5 separate regions of the Homo sapiens genome follow, and all the other regions are linked to region 1. Evidence: promoter capture Hi-C in 16 types of primary human blood cells and fetal thymus (Javierre and others, 2016). All regions are on one chromosome and are shown on one strand. The core of a region is centred on a gene start or on the middle of the fragment in contact, and the rest is flanking DNA. Distances in the headings are between cores, read along the strand shown. Region 1 holds the start of MON2-AS1 (MON2 antisense RNA 1). Region 2 has its middle 33 kb from the start of MON2. Region 3 overlaps MON2 (MON2 regulator of endosome-to-Golgi trafficking). Region 4 has its middle 17 kb from the start of MON2. Region 5 overlaps MON2 (MON2 regulator of endosome-to-Golgi trafficking).

Region 1 (2,691 bases), core at 128-2,627:
ACATTTTACTTGGGATAGAATGCTGGAATAACAGTGATCCTCTGAGGAAATCAGTCTTTTTTTAAAAAAAGTCTTCCACAAACTATAAAACCAATAAAAATTTGTATTATTGGAGAATAATTAAGGACTTACCACGGTATCAACAATGATATTAGCAACAGTAAATATTTTAAATATTTACAGTGATATTCTAATACGATTGGCCTATGGTAAGTCTCCAACATAAAAATATCCAGGTCATCATTTTTCTTTAAACACCAATTTCCCCACAGTAGCTAATCTGCCTAATGTACATCTCCCATTAAAACCCACATGCTGGCCGGGCGCAGTGGCTCACGCCTGTAATCCCAACACTTGGAGAGGCCGAGGCGGGAGAACCCCGAGGTCAGGAGTTCGAGACCAGCCTAGCCAACATGATGAAACCCTGTCTCTACTAAAAATACAAAAATTAGCCAGATGTGGTGTTGGGCACCTGAAATCTCAGCTACTCGGGTGGCTGAGGCAGGAGAATCGCTTGAACCCAGGAGGCAGAGGTTGCAGTAAGCCGAGACCACACCATTGCACTCCAGCTGGGATAACAAGAGCAAAAGTCCATCTCAGGAAAAACAAACAGACAAACAAAAAAAACCCACTTGCCAGCCTTCCTAACCCTACCATGTGCACCTCTGCCTTTACCCACCACTTTCACTATACCACTTCTCAATATGCACACAGAGCATTATTTACTTCTGTGCATAATGTTATAAAACTATTGGGTGTTTTGATAAGACTGTTCAAAATCAGGGAAAAAGCTGTGGGAAACAGATGTAATTGAGGAGCGCTTATGCTAAGGGCAAATTTCCAGCAAAGCTGGATAGCCTAAGTGAAATCCACTCTTGCCCCCGATCCTTAATCTGACCCCAAAAATCTTAATTTCATTTCATAACACTCTGAAATCCCACCAGTTACAGATTTACTGGTATCCCTTTTAAAAAATGTAAAGTATATGAAAGTTAAAGAGATTATTTACTATTTGGACTCTGTAAATTAATTTAATAGGACTACTTTCCTCATAGATTAGCTGAGATCAACAGCACTACTGGAACTGGAAATGCAGATTAAAGGATCACTGAAGCAAGCACTGGTTACATATGTAATACTTGGGAGTAAGTGGCTAACGTGGAAACCTGGTGATACCATGGTAGCACACTGTAGCAGGAAGAACATGGGCTCCTGAACACTCCTGGATTTTAATCTGGTTCTATCACCTTTCCTGTGACCTTGGGCAAGTAACTTAACCTCTTCACATCTCAATTAGCTCTACTATCAAATAAGATAATATTTCCCCACAAGGTTGTTATGTAAGATAGAATGACACAAGTGCCTTGCATATAACAGATTCTTAAAAAAAAAAAAAAAAAAAAGCCAGTTTACCTCTTTTCCATGTTCATTATTGAGGCAAGAACAAAAGGCACCAAGGAAGAGAAAGGAGTGGACTGGGTAGAAAAGAAGGATGCCAAAGAGAAACTCCTGAAAATTCCTCCTTGAAAATCAGGTTCAATCAAGAGAAGGTAAGAAAACATTTTTGTTTTCTTTTCTCTACTTCACTCTCATTCTTTTTTCATGATCATACTGCCTTAATCCCAAGACTCAAAATTCATACGGTACAACTAAATACAGAAGACTATGTTATGAACTGTTCGTATTATATTAAAGAGAAAGTAGATCACAGAAGGTGGACTGAGAACAAATCTTTCATTCAATACAATGGAACAAATATTACTGAATGCTTTTTATGGTGTGTCTCAGGTGATTAGCAGGAAGTGGAGGAGAATGCGAAGATGAGTAAGAAAAAATTCCTTGCCTTTAAGGAGTCAGTAGTGTTAAGCTTTCTGATTTCAGAGAATTTTTGTAGCATTCGTCTCTGGGAAATACAGTCAGTTCATAAGTTATGGACTTTTGCCCATTCTGTTTCATTATGAATAGCATATGTTAGGGCATGAGGAAGAGATGTTACAGAAAACTGATGGCTTTTACAATAAAGATTCTACTTTTACTATTAGTCAAATTTTTGTTTATTATTAAATTTTTAATACAAAAAATTACCTGCCAAAATTTCAGTGTTTCGTGCAGCAATTGTTTTAACTTTTATTATTCCTGATTCAGCAGCCTGCAAGAATAAAAATAATTAGAACACAAAATTTACTGCCAAAATGAATTATCTATGGAAAATAAGTCATATGTGATAGACAAAATATCAAGCACAAAGTCAGTCACTACCCTACCACCTTTTTAATTTTCAAACCATCAGATACTAAGCCCAGTAGTGACATATACGTTAAATGTAATAAAACATGATTAATTTGATTATTCACATGCAAACTCTGAATGCACTACAACATGTTGCCTTCCTCTGCCTTAAGGCATTATCTGGAATACCTCAATCCCCTGCAAAGTTAAATTTTCCGAGAATAAAAATAACAAACAAAAACAAAATCTACTGAAAATAATTAGGCTCCTTTTCCCCATTTCAAGCCTCCTCTCTCTCCACCACACACAAAAAAATTATAGAACACTGCAAAATCAAGTAAAACTACTGTGTTGGATTTATTTATTTATTGTTGATGGAGTTTTTTGCTCTTGTTGCCCAGGCTGGAGTCCAATGGCACGATCTTGGCTCACTACAACCTCCGCCTCCCTGGTTCAAGCCAT
Region 2 (2,691 bases), core at 67-2,566, 51 kb after region 1:
TTCTTTCTAGGAGGCGGGGGGTGTCTGACGTCTGTAGTCAGACATCTTGAACTGGACGATCCAGAGGACAGTTTTAATAAGGGAATGCTAATTCCTGGAAAACAGCAGAGTAGGAACTGCTAGGTTCCAAGCTTCACCATGTGTAAGCCCATTTTCTTGGGTAAACTTGCCCAGAGGGGCGTCTGGTCTCAGTCCAGTCCTGAGACATCAGGGGAGGATGGAGGAGGCTGTGGAGCTGAGCAAGTTCTCCAGGACACGGCGAACCTGCTTCCCCACTCAGACACAGCTGCGAAGCTGCCCTTCCTGTATTGTCACTCTGCAGCTCACCTCCTTGTTCTGGGATTCTGGGCAGGCGCTGTGGACACTCTTTGGGTAATAGTAAAACCCCGAAAAAAAAAGAGAGGGAAAACGGCCTTAGATAAAAATATTAATTATATCAGAGACGACCTCACTAGAATGGAGAACTAACGTCGTCATCAATCCAGTGCTACTCACACTTGAGCACTAAAGGGAAACTAATGGCAGAGGAGGGTAAAGCATGCGTGGGGTGGGTTGTAGGACCCAAAACGGTCTTGGGGAAGTAGTTTTCTATTATAGCTTAAAAATAATTCATTAAGTCTTGAATTGTATTTTCTATGAGATCTGTTTGTTTTGCTATAAAACGGTTTTAAAATAGTTACCACTGAGCAAAACTGATACTCCAAGAAGATGTACTGTGTTCATCCTGTGACTCTACTGTGACGTTCGCCTCAATTTGAAAACACAGATCTATTCCTTTCTTTAGTTTTGCCTTAATATAAAAGTTCCCCACACCTCAAATTACTGGGAGAAAATTAAGTTGTTAAAAAGAGACAGGCGGCCGGGAGCGGTGGCTTACGCTTGTAATTCGAGCACTTTGGGAGGCTGAGGTGGGCGGATCACTTGAGGTCAGGAGTTCGAGACCAGCCTGGCCAACATGGTGAAACCCCGTGTCTACTAAAAAACACAAAAATCAGCTGGGCATGGTGGCGCACACCTGTAATCCCAGCTACTTGGAAGGCTGAGGCAGGATAATCCCTTGAACCCAGGAGGCGGAGGTTGCAGTGAGCCAAGATCGTGACACTGCAATCCAGCATGGGTGACAGGGCAAGATTCCGTGTCAAAAAAATAAATAAATAAATAAAAAGGGAGAGAGAGAGAAAGAGAGAGAGAGAGAGAGAGAGAGAGAGACATGGCATAGAAAGCACAAATATTCTTTATGTTTAAACTTGAGAGTTACATATCTTGAGATGAAGGATTATAATAACCACTAACTGACCAAACAGAAGATGCTTCTGCACTAGTGTGATGCCTTCAAATACTATTTACAAGTGCTTTGAGAAGTTTTCTTTGTTTTGTTTTGTTTTGTTTTGTTTAGACAGGGTCTCACTCTGCCGCCCAGGCTGGAATGCAGTGGCGTGATCTTGGCTCACTGCAACCTCCACCTCCCGGGTTCAAGCAATTCTCATACCTTAGCCCCCTGAGTAGCTGGGATTACAGGGGCGCACCACCACGCCTGGCTAATTTTTGTATTTTTTTTGGTAGAGACGGGGTTTCACCATGTTGGCCAGGCTGGTGTTGAACTCCTGACCTCAGATGATCCACCTGCCTCCACTTCCAAAGGTGCTGGGATTACAGGTGTGAGCCACCATGCCCAGCCTTTCCTTTTAAAAAAGAAAATAAAATGTAAATAAATCTATGGGCATGTCATCTTTAACAAGAGGAAATATTGGTTGAATATAGTGATGTTATTTATTCATATATAAAATACCTTCAGACCCACGTATTTAGTGATGCTCTGTGTATAATTTTGTACCTTTTTGAATATATATACTATTAGGATGCCTGAATCAGCTCTAGGAGGTATTTCTTCCTCAGTTAATGGCATCACTAATTGAACTGATCACCCAGTATATACCCTCAGTCTCAAAATGTCCTCTTCACATGCCCCGGAGTCTTGTGGAAAAGAGACATAGAAATTACTTTCATTGATGGAGATTTGGACACAAATCCACAGAGTTGGCCTCATGAGGTGCCTGAAGACTTCTTTCTTTAATCCCCTCATCCAAGTACTCAGTGTTAGGAGTTAGGATTAGGTTTGTCTGTATATTACAGAATACTCAAATAACACTGAATTAAATCAGGATTTTTTTTTTCTCTTACATAAAGAAGTCTAGATTTCTATTTCAATCCAAGATGGAGTAACAGGGACTGGATTTACACTCTTGCCAAAAACAACCAAAAATAAACCAGATAAAATATATGAAATAGCATTTCTCATAATATTGGGCATCAGTCAACAAAAGACAGTCATCACTGAGAGATGGGAAGTAAGTAGTAGGGCTCTATGATTTCCTCAGCTTACTGCCTTGAGAGTTTGCAGGCTATAGTGCAGAGAAAGAGAAATGGGATGGAGTGTAGTGAACATCCTGGGTTGAGAGATGTAGTTGATAGTCCAAGGAAACCAAGGTACCTCAAGCTTGCAGGGCAGAGTGCTTGGAGTGGAGATTTTCTTCACAAAGAGCAGATCTGCTGAGGATACACCCTTCAGGGTACTGGTCAGGGCATAAGTGTGAGAAAAGAAGTTGAGTCTGGAAGAAAAAATCATCCCGAAAGAGTAAAGGAAACCGTGACTGGCATTCACTTGGGGCTGGGAACTCAAAGCATGTGACA
Region 3 (2,691 bases), core at 112-2,611, 54 kb before region 1:
CTCTATTTTACTCAGCGTATCCATTTTCTCCACAACTGTTCTTCCCAAGCCTTCCTTAAAAATCGTATCTGTTGCTACCACTCTCTGAAATTGCACTACTGAAAGTTAAAAATAAATGATTAATCATCAAATCTCCTATTTTTTTCTTATAGGTCATGATTTCCTACAATATTTTTCTTTTGATTTACATTAACCTGCCCTTTCCTACCTAAATCCTACCAATCTTTCAATATACATCTCCAATCACACTAGTTCATCTTGATTAATCTTAATTCATCTTAATAGAAACATATACCAATAACATCTTATATAACAAGGAACTAAAAATTCAGAGAGTAAGTCTCATGTCATTTAATATCTGTATTATTTATTGAGACTCTCATACCATAGTAATTGTCACTAACTATGAACCAAGTAGCTTATATACTCTTTGAAAGTAGAAACCTCTTATTTCTTAATGTCTCTGAGCAGATCGTCATGTACACAGTAAGCCTACTGTGCTTATTGAATAAATACATAGATTCTGAAAACATTACCATATAAACTTGCTTAGATTTCATTAAGGTACTTTATTAAAAATATTATAGTTTTGTGTTAAGAATCTCAAATATGTAGAATTATTAAAGGTATCAAAAAATTAATTACTTCATTATATATTATCCTTGCCCTGATTTAGAACAAACTATAATATATATTTTCTTTTTTTCTTGAGACAGAGTCTTGCTCTGTCGCCCAGGCTGGAGCGCAGTGGCACAATCTCGACTCACAGCAACCTCCGCCTCCTGGGTTCAACTGAGCATGTCCAGCTAATTTTTGTATTTTTAGTAGAGACGGGGTTTCACCATGTTGGCCAGGCTGGTCTCGAACTCCTGACCACAAGTGATCTGCCTGCCTCGGCCTCCTGCAGTGCTGGGATTACAGGCGTAAGCCACCATGCCCAGCCATAATACATACTTTCAAACACCTGCATGTTTATATAATTATCTAGCTAGGTACTATAATATATGAAACTATGCTCTAATGAGACTTTCTTCACCAATCTTTAAATGAGTCATAAGAGCCAAGATAACAAGCCACAGTACCCAAAATTACACTTAAGGACTAGGCAGATGGCCGGGCGCGGTGGCTCATGCCTGTAATCCCAGCACTTTGGGAGGCTGAGGCGGGCGGATCACAAGGTCAGGAGATCGACACCATCCTGGCTAACACAGTGAAACCTTGTCTCTACTGAAAATACAATAAAAAAATTAGCCGGGCGTGGTGGCGGGCACCTGTAGTCCCAGCTACTTGGGAGGCTGAGGCAGGAGAATGGCATGAACCTGGGAGGCAGAGCAGTGACCCGAGATTGCGCCACTGCACTCTAGCCTGGGCGACAAGGCGAGACTCCGTTTCAAAAAAAAAAAAAGACTAGGCAGACAACATAATTTTGAATGCTACAGTTACATGTTATAGCTTTAAATTATATAAATTTTAGCTTTTAAATCATATTTTGGGTTATTTTCACTTATTTGTAAATAGTCAAACTATATTTATTGATTTTAAAATGTGGAAAGTATTTTGTTTAATTATTTCTAACATATAAATAAATACAACTGTTCCTGTGCTTTCCAAGTATAACAGAAAGTGATATTTTTAGTAGTATAGAAAGAAATGTTCTTGAATGTTAATATTCAAAAGTACCGTTTTATTCATTTAATCAATGAACAAATAAAAATTTAAATTTTCAAGATAAGGAGAATCATTACCTTTAGAAAGAAATGATTAGCTCCTTACTTTCCATCCCAATGAAAGCAAAGGAAACTGAGACAAACATTCTTTAATTTAAATCTTATATTACCCCAATCATAAATTGTAATTACAAGTATTATCATGACATTTTATATAACCTATAAAACTGTATTATATTATTTTATAAAAATATTTTTAAAATGTTCAGTATATAAGAGAAATGAACACAACTTAAAATCATATGACATATTTAGACATATCACAAGCCAAATCATGTCCTTTTTACTCCTTCGACAAATAACGATAAGTGGTAAAAACCCAACAGAGTATGGTTACCATACAATCTGAGTGTTAGTTCTACTAGTAAAACACTAAGATCATAATGGATGTACATCTTATATAACTAATGTATCATATCTAAAACAGAAAGGTAGAATATCACACCTTATTATTTCCATAGGCCATATCCATTGCTTCTAGAGACAAGGAGCAAAGTGCATTTATTAAATGATGCAGTGATACATCATCAAGATACCTAAAAAGGAAATGAAGAAATAAGACATCTTGATCTAAAATATATAACAAATAACAATGTTTTTATCAATTAAAAAAACTGACTCTTACTGTGAGCTTTCAAACAATCTTGAAAGTATATTGGAAATCACTGGTAAATCTGTCATCACTGCTGTTGTTAGAACCTGAGAAGAATAAAATTAAATGTAATATATGACACTTTGGGATGCACTAATTGGGTAAGAAAGACTAGAGCTTACTGTACTGGGTCCTTCTACAGCTCTCCCAGGTTTCAAGGCACCGCCACTACTAGGCTTTAATCCCAGAATCCACACAAGATGCTGTAAAATTAAAAAAAAATCAAAACAAATAACTTTACAAAAGTATAAAAGGTCCAATAACTAAAATTAAAATCAGTAGTAACTTCTAGCAACCAAAATTAAAATCAGT
Region 4 (2,691 bases), core at 117-2,616, 35 kb after region 1:
AGCCATGGGGCGAGGTTGAAATGTCCACTGTAAAGTCGGGGTTGTGAAGAAATGTATTGAGATAATATGCATCAGATGCCTCTACCCCTGCAAGACCTCCCAGGCCTTCCTACTCCCATTCTACTTCATGACCTTGTTGTGTGTCTTAATATCTGCTAAGGCAACTCCTCCCCATGTGGTTCTTCTTTTACAGCTGAAAAAGATAAATAAGGATCTCTGTTCTTCTGTATAACTTTTGACTGTTGAATTTCTATTTAAAAAAGCTACAGCTGAAATTTTGATTGGGATTGCATGAAACTTATGGATTAACTTGGGGAGAATATCTATCTATCTAGATATATAGACATATAGATATTATCCCATTTAAGAGAATAAAATATCTTTCCATTTATTCAAATACTTCCCTATGACTTTTTTTTGGAGACAGGGTCTTGCTCTGTTGACTTTTTCTTTTGGAGACAGGGTCTTGCTCTTTTGCCCAGGCTGGAGTGCAGTGGTGCAATCACCACACACTATAGCTTCAGCTTCCTGGGCTCAAGCCATTCTCCTATCTCAGCCTCCAAAGTAGCTAGGACCACAGACATGCCATGACAACCGCCTAATTTGTTGTTGTTGCTGTTATTATTGTTGATGTTGTTGTCGAGATGAGGTCTCACTACATTGCCCAGGCTGGTTATGACTTTGAATAGATTTAAAATATTTTTTCATCGATAATTTCATAGATAATTTTTTCATAATTTCTGTTTTAAGTTACATTCTTAGATACTTTTGCTTGTTCTATTATATTTTCCATTGATTATTGCTCATATGGATGATTTGTATGAATTCATCTGGTATCTGGCAATCTTTCTGGATACTCGTATTCATCAAATAGCTTGCTTACTGATTCTGAGTTTCCTACATAGATTACATCATCTAGAAATAATGAGAGCTTTATCTTTTTTTTCAATTCTTACATCTCCTTTCTTCTTCTTTTCTTATACAACTTACCAGCTCCTTCAAAACCACTGAAAACTGTATGGCTGTATATGAGCAACCTGTGTTTTCCTGAGCTTAAAGTGAATGCATCTCAATTTTTTTCCATTAAGTATTATGTTTGCTCTGTTTTTGGTATTACACCTTTGTCAAGATGAGGGAGTTTCCTTCTAGTCTGTTTCTTTGTTAAAAGTGCTTTTTTTAAAAAAAAATTAGCATATGCGTATATGTGGGAATTATTTTATTTCATTTTATTTTGAGACAAGGTTTTGCTGTGTTGCCCCAGCTGGAGTGCAATGGCGTGATCTTGGCTCACTGCAACCTCCTCCTCCCAGGCTCAAGCAATTCTCCTGCCTCAGTCTCCTGAGTAGCTGGGACTATAGGTGTACACCACTGTGCCCAGCTAATTTTTGTATTTTTTGTAGTGATGGGGTTTCGCCATGTTGCCCAGGCTGGTCTCGAACTCCTGAGCTCAGGCAATCCGCTTGCCTTGGCCTCCCCAAGTGCTGGGGTTACAGGCATGAGCCATGGGGCCAAGCCCGTGGTAATTATTTTAAGAATCTAGTGAGTTTATCATGTAATTTTTTCTTTTAGAATATTAGGGAGAAGTTATATTGCTAGACTTTTCTGGTATGGACTATGTTTGCAGTCTTAGGATAAACTTGATTATAATGATTTTTTTTTTTTTGAGGAGTCTCACTCTGTCGCCCAGGCTGCAGTGCAGTGGCTCGATCTCGGCTCACTGCAACCTCCACCTTCTGGGTTCAAGCGAGTCTCCTGTCTCAGCCTCCTGAGTAGCTGGGATTACAGGCATGTGCTACCATGCCCAGTTAGTTTTGTATTTTTAGTAGAGACAGGGTTTTACCATGTTGGCCAGGCTGGTCTTGAACTCCTGACCTCGAGTGATCCACCCGCCTCGGCCTCCCAAAGTGCTGGGATTACAGGTGTGAGCCACCACGCCCAGCCAAATAATTTTTTTATTACACTTTTGGATTTAAGTCCCTTAATATAGGCATTTCCTGCTTAATCTCTGTAATCAGTTTTTGAAAATCAGATGTCATGAATGAAGTCACCAACCAGGAAAAGTTTTGATGCATTTCATATCAAGCCAAACCCCAAATCAATTTCCTAAACCATACGAAACCCATTTTAAAAATCCATAAAAATGAACAAACAGTACTGTAAGAATATAAAGTGCAGCCCGGCACAGTGGCTCACACCTGTAATCACAGCATTTTGGGAGGCCGAGGCAGGCGAATCACCTGAGGTCAGGAGTTCAAGACCAGCCTGACCAACATGGAGAAACCCTAACTCTACTAAAAATACAAAATTAGCCAGGCATGGTGGCATGTGCCTGTTATCCCAGCTACTTGGGAGGCTGAGGCAAGAGAATTGCTTTAACCCCTGGAGGCAGAGGTTGCATTGAGGTGAGATCATGCCATTGCACTCCAGCCTGGGCAACAACAGCAAAACTCCATCTAAAAAAAAAAAAAAAAAAAAAAAAAAAAAAAAAAATATATATATATATATATATATATATATATATATATATATATAATGCTTAAAACATCACTTCTTGATCACCTGAAAATTAAGACTGACTGTAAGCATATAGTTGCTCTGTAGGTATGGCTTGGCCTCTCTGGGCCAGCAACATCCCCAGTGCACATTTCTCTTGGTTTTGTTGACTCGCAGTATGCTTTTCAAAATTTCCAC
Region 5 (2,691 bases), core at 104-2,603, 38 kb before region 1:
AGCTCGTAGCCACTGTGGTTTATCTGCATCCAGAAATTTCACCAGAAGTGACAGAAATATCTCACATTCAGTTACCTAAAAATATATGATTTTTAATACTATTTCTTTGAATCAAAGAGAAGAATTATAGACTGTGTTCTTATTCTTAACTTAGTGCTATGGACAAACCAATAAAATCTTTTAGATTAGAAATCAAACTCTTAATGGGGAGTGGAGAAACAGAGAAAGGAAATGTAGTTATACATGGAAACATTAACAGTAAAAATAATCACAGTGTTTCTCTAAATATATACCTGAAAACATTAGTAATCTGCTAATACGGTTAATCCTTTATCCTTGCTCTTTAGAAAGCAGATAATACCATCATGCCATCTCCATTTCTAAAAACTGCCAGACAGCATGTACCACATAAACTGCTGACAGGATGCACGTTCTACTCTTCAGAGCAGTTTTTTCCATACTTTCTTTTGCTACTAAAGAAACAAAGAGGCAAGCCAAAGGGTGCTTAGTATAAATTTTATAGTAGAAAAATAAGGAGGAACCTATAGCAGTTGACAGATGTAAAGTATATAACTATTAGAACAGGGCCTGTACTGCTAATTAAGTATTAATTATCATTACTGTTGTTGCTAATATAGACCATTTCTCAGCAAGCTCTTTATAAATAAATAATGTTCAAGGCACACCCAAGGCATTAATCATTACATGTCTGATAACTGAATGAACAAACAAAAGCTAACCCGTTCATCCAAAGGTAAATGGATTGTTTTTGTTACTTATTAATTGACAATACAGCAGGACCTCTGGGAGGTAAAAATTAAGCTGACATGGTGATTATTAGGCCAAACTGATTCTTGCTACTAGGTACAGCAAGTTATTGGATGTTTTAGCTGGGGTATCTCAAAATGAGTGAACCATAATGTGAGACAAGAAATTTGGGGAAATATAGTAGCCCTCAGGCTTTTAGTGCAAAGTCTTAGCTGCTAGTATTTTCTAATGCCTTTCAGTATCTTTAACTGGATGCTTAAAAAAAGGACATAATCATAATGACACAGTAGGAGGAATAACTAAAAACAACATTATCATTTAGACTGCTAATGACTGGGTAAGTATATGCAGAGGCTTGTCATTGTCCTAAACATGATAAAGCTTAGTTTAAAGGAACTAGATCAGGAGTCAGGTGGCTCAACTTCTTTATCCAGCAACCTTGTGCGTAAGGACAAGCATGGTTGCCTTTCTTATAAATAAAGGATGAAAATATCTACATCTTTCTGGGAAATCAAATGAGAAAAATGTAAGAATAAAAACATCCCCTAAACATGACAAAGTGCCATGCAAATGAATAGGGCATTATTTTTTCTAAACAAAATGACACCTCTTTAGAGGAAGAACTGAGAAAGAAAGACCCATGCTAGTGACTCATTGGACAACAGCTCTATCTACTGGAGGGTTTGAATATTAGTAAGCCCTTCAACAAGTGCAATATCAGCTTTACAAGTGGCATAAGTGGCATATAAGTGTGTGTGAATGAATTTAAGGTTCATCAGCTAAGCTTTGAGGCAAGAATACAAAGGATCTCAGAAACATCAAGTATATTACAGCCGAAGGAATAACATTATAAAACTTGCCTTGAAAGCATATCATTTTTTCTCTATGACACAATGACTATAACACAAACCAATTATTTATCAATTTATACTGGAACCACTAAAATCTTATGATTTGGGTAAAAAAGAGAGGCTCTCTCCTGAAGTCTAGAACCTTGTTCTCCTTTTGTTTCTTCTTGTCAAGTGTGAAAGTTTGAGCAGAGAACTAGTGTTGAGAGCACTGAACACTGAACAAGGGCCTCAATGGAGAAAACCTACTATGAATCTGTTAAGACTTTCCCCCAAGTGGCTGCACTTATAAGGAAACAGGTATTAAGATTAGCACTTATGGTATAAATCCAATTTTTGTGACCCAGATATGTCATAAACTCCACTATACCAACATGAAGGGTGATGAATGTTTTTGAACTCCTGTAGTACTTTGGTAGTAGATTATTATCTAAACGTCAAGAGACATCTGATGGCTTAAGATGAATCAAAGTTACTGAGGTAGACATTCTAATCTCAATATCACATAGATATCTATTAAAGAATCCTGTATGTAAGAGTTGACTTGGCAGACAATGAAGAAAATCTGGTAGCACATTCATGTAGGAGTCTATTTGTCAGGAGCTTGTCCGAGTTAACAACCTTGGAGCTAATAGATTTGGTAGTGATGAGATCTTTTGTTAGAGAAATGTCTGTGAAGAAGTAGAAAATTAGTTTGGACAAGGCAATTTAGCCTCATTGATTCCTTTCTAAAAACAGTAAGTCAAGGGCAGAAAAGAGATATGCTAGCCTCTTTTTTTTTTCTCTTTTGAGACAGTTTCACTCTGTTGCCCAGGCTGAAGTACAGTGGCTCAGTCTTGGCTCACTGCAACCTCCACCTCCTGGGTTCAAGTGATTCTTGTGCCTTAGCCTCCTGAGAAGGTGGGATTACAAGCCACCATGCCCAGTTAATTTTTGTATTTTTAGTAGAGATGGGGTTTCGCCATGTTGGTCAGGATGGTCTCGGACTCCTGACCTCAAGTGATCCACCCGCCTTGGCCTTCCAAAGTGCTGGGATTATAGGCGTGAGCCACCACACCCAGCCACTAGCCCCTTA

Evidence for each region. The method cuts DNA at HindIII sites, captures the fragments that hold promoters and counts their contacts. A CHiCAGO score of 5 or more calls a contact.
Region 2: a fragment that was not itself captured here is called in contact with the fragment with the promoter of MON2-AS1 in region 1 in 2 of 17 cell types (naive B cells and total B cells); the score reaches 6.3 in naive B cells.
Region 3: a contact is called between a fragment that was not itself captured here and the fragment with the promoter of MON2-AS1 in region 1, in 3 of 17 cell types (total B cells, naive CD4 T cells and naive B cells). The highest score is 6.3, in total B cells.
Region 4: a fragment that was not itself captured here is called in contact with the fragment with the promoter of MON2-AS1 in region 1 in 1 of 17 cell types (total B cells); the score reaches 5.2 in total B cells.
Region 5: a contact is called between a fragment that was not itself captured here and the fragment with the promoter of MON2-AS1 in region 1, in 8 of 17 cell types (total B cells, naive B cells, naive CD8 T cells and 5 more). The highest score is 8.0, in total B cells.

Annotation. Positions count from the first base shown.
Region 1 is chr12:62,483,628-62,486,318 of GRCh38, reverse strand. It overlaps MON2-AS1 (MON2 antisense RNA 1), which reads left to right and starts at 1,377. Exons shown (of 2, transcript NR_186172.1): 1 at 1,377-1,550. It overlaps MON2 (MON2 regulator of endosome-to-Golgi trafficking), which reads right to left. Exons shown (of 35, transcript NM_015026.3): 2 at 2,086-2,149. The HindIII fragment of the contact is 7,471 bases long and covers 1-1,869 here.
Region 2 is chr12:62,432,516-62,435,206 of GRCh38, reverse strand. No RefSeq gene overlaps it. Among named protein-coding and RNA genes, the nearest start is that of MON2, 33 kb to the left of the region's middle. RefSeq lists an enhancer at 1-98. The HindIII fragment of the contact is 2,366 bases long and covers 134-2,499 here.
Region 3 is chr12:62,537,987-62,540,677 of GRCh38, reverse strand. MON2 (MON2 regulator of endosome-to-Golgi trafficking) reads right to left here. Exons shown (of 35, transcript NM_015026.3): 17 at 2,502-2,582; 18 at 2,353-2,426; 19 at 2,173-2,263. Among named protein-coding and RNA genes, the nearest start is that of MON2-AS1, 54 kb to the right of the region's middle. The HindIII fragment of the contact is 3,550 bases long and covers 1-2,691 here.
Region 4 is chr12:62,448,702-62,451,392 of GRCh38, reverse strand. No RefSeq gene overlaps it. Among named protein-coding and RNA genes, the nearest start is that of MON2, 17 kb to the left of the region's middle. The HindIII fragment of the contact is 5,138 bases long and covers 1-2,691 here.
Region 5 is chr12:62,521,899-62,524,589 of GRCh38, reverse strand. MON2 (MON2 regulator of endosome-to-Golgi trafficking) reads right to left here. Exons shown (of 35, transcript NM_015026.3): 9 at 1-75. Among named protein-coding and RNA genes, the nearest start is that of MON2-AS1, 38 kb to the right of the region's middle. The HindIII fragment of the contact is 403 bases long and covers 1,152-1,554 here.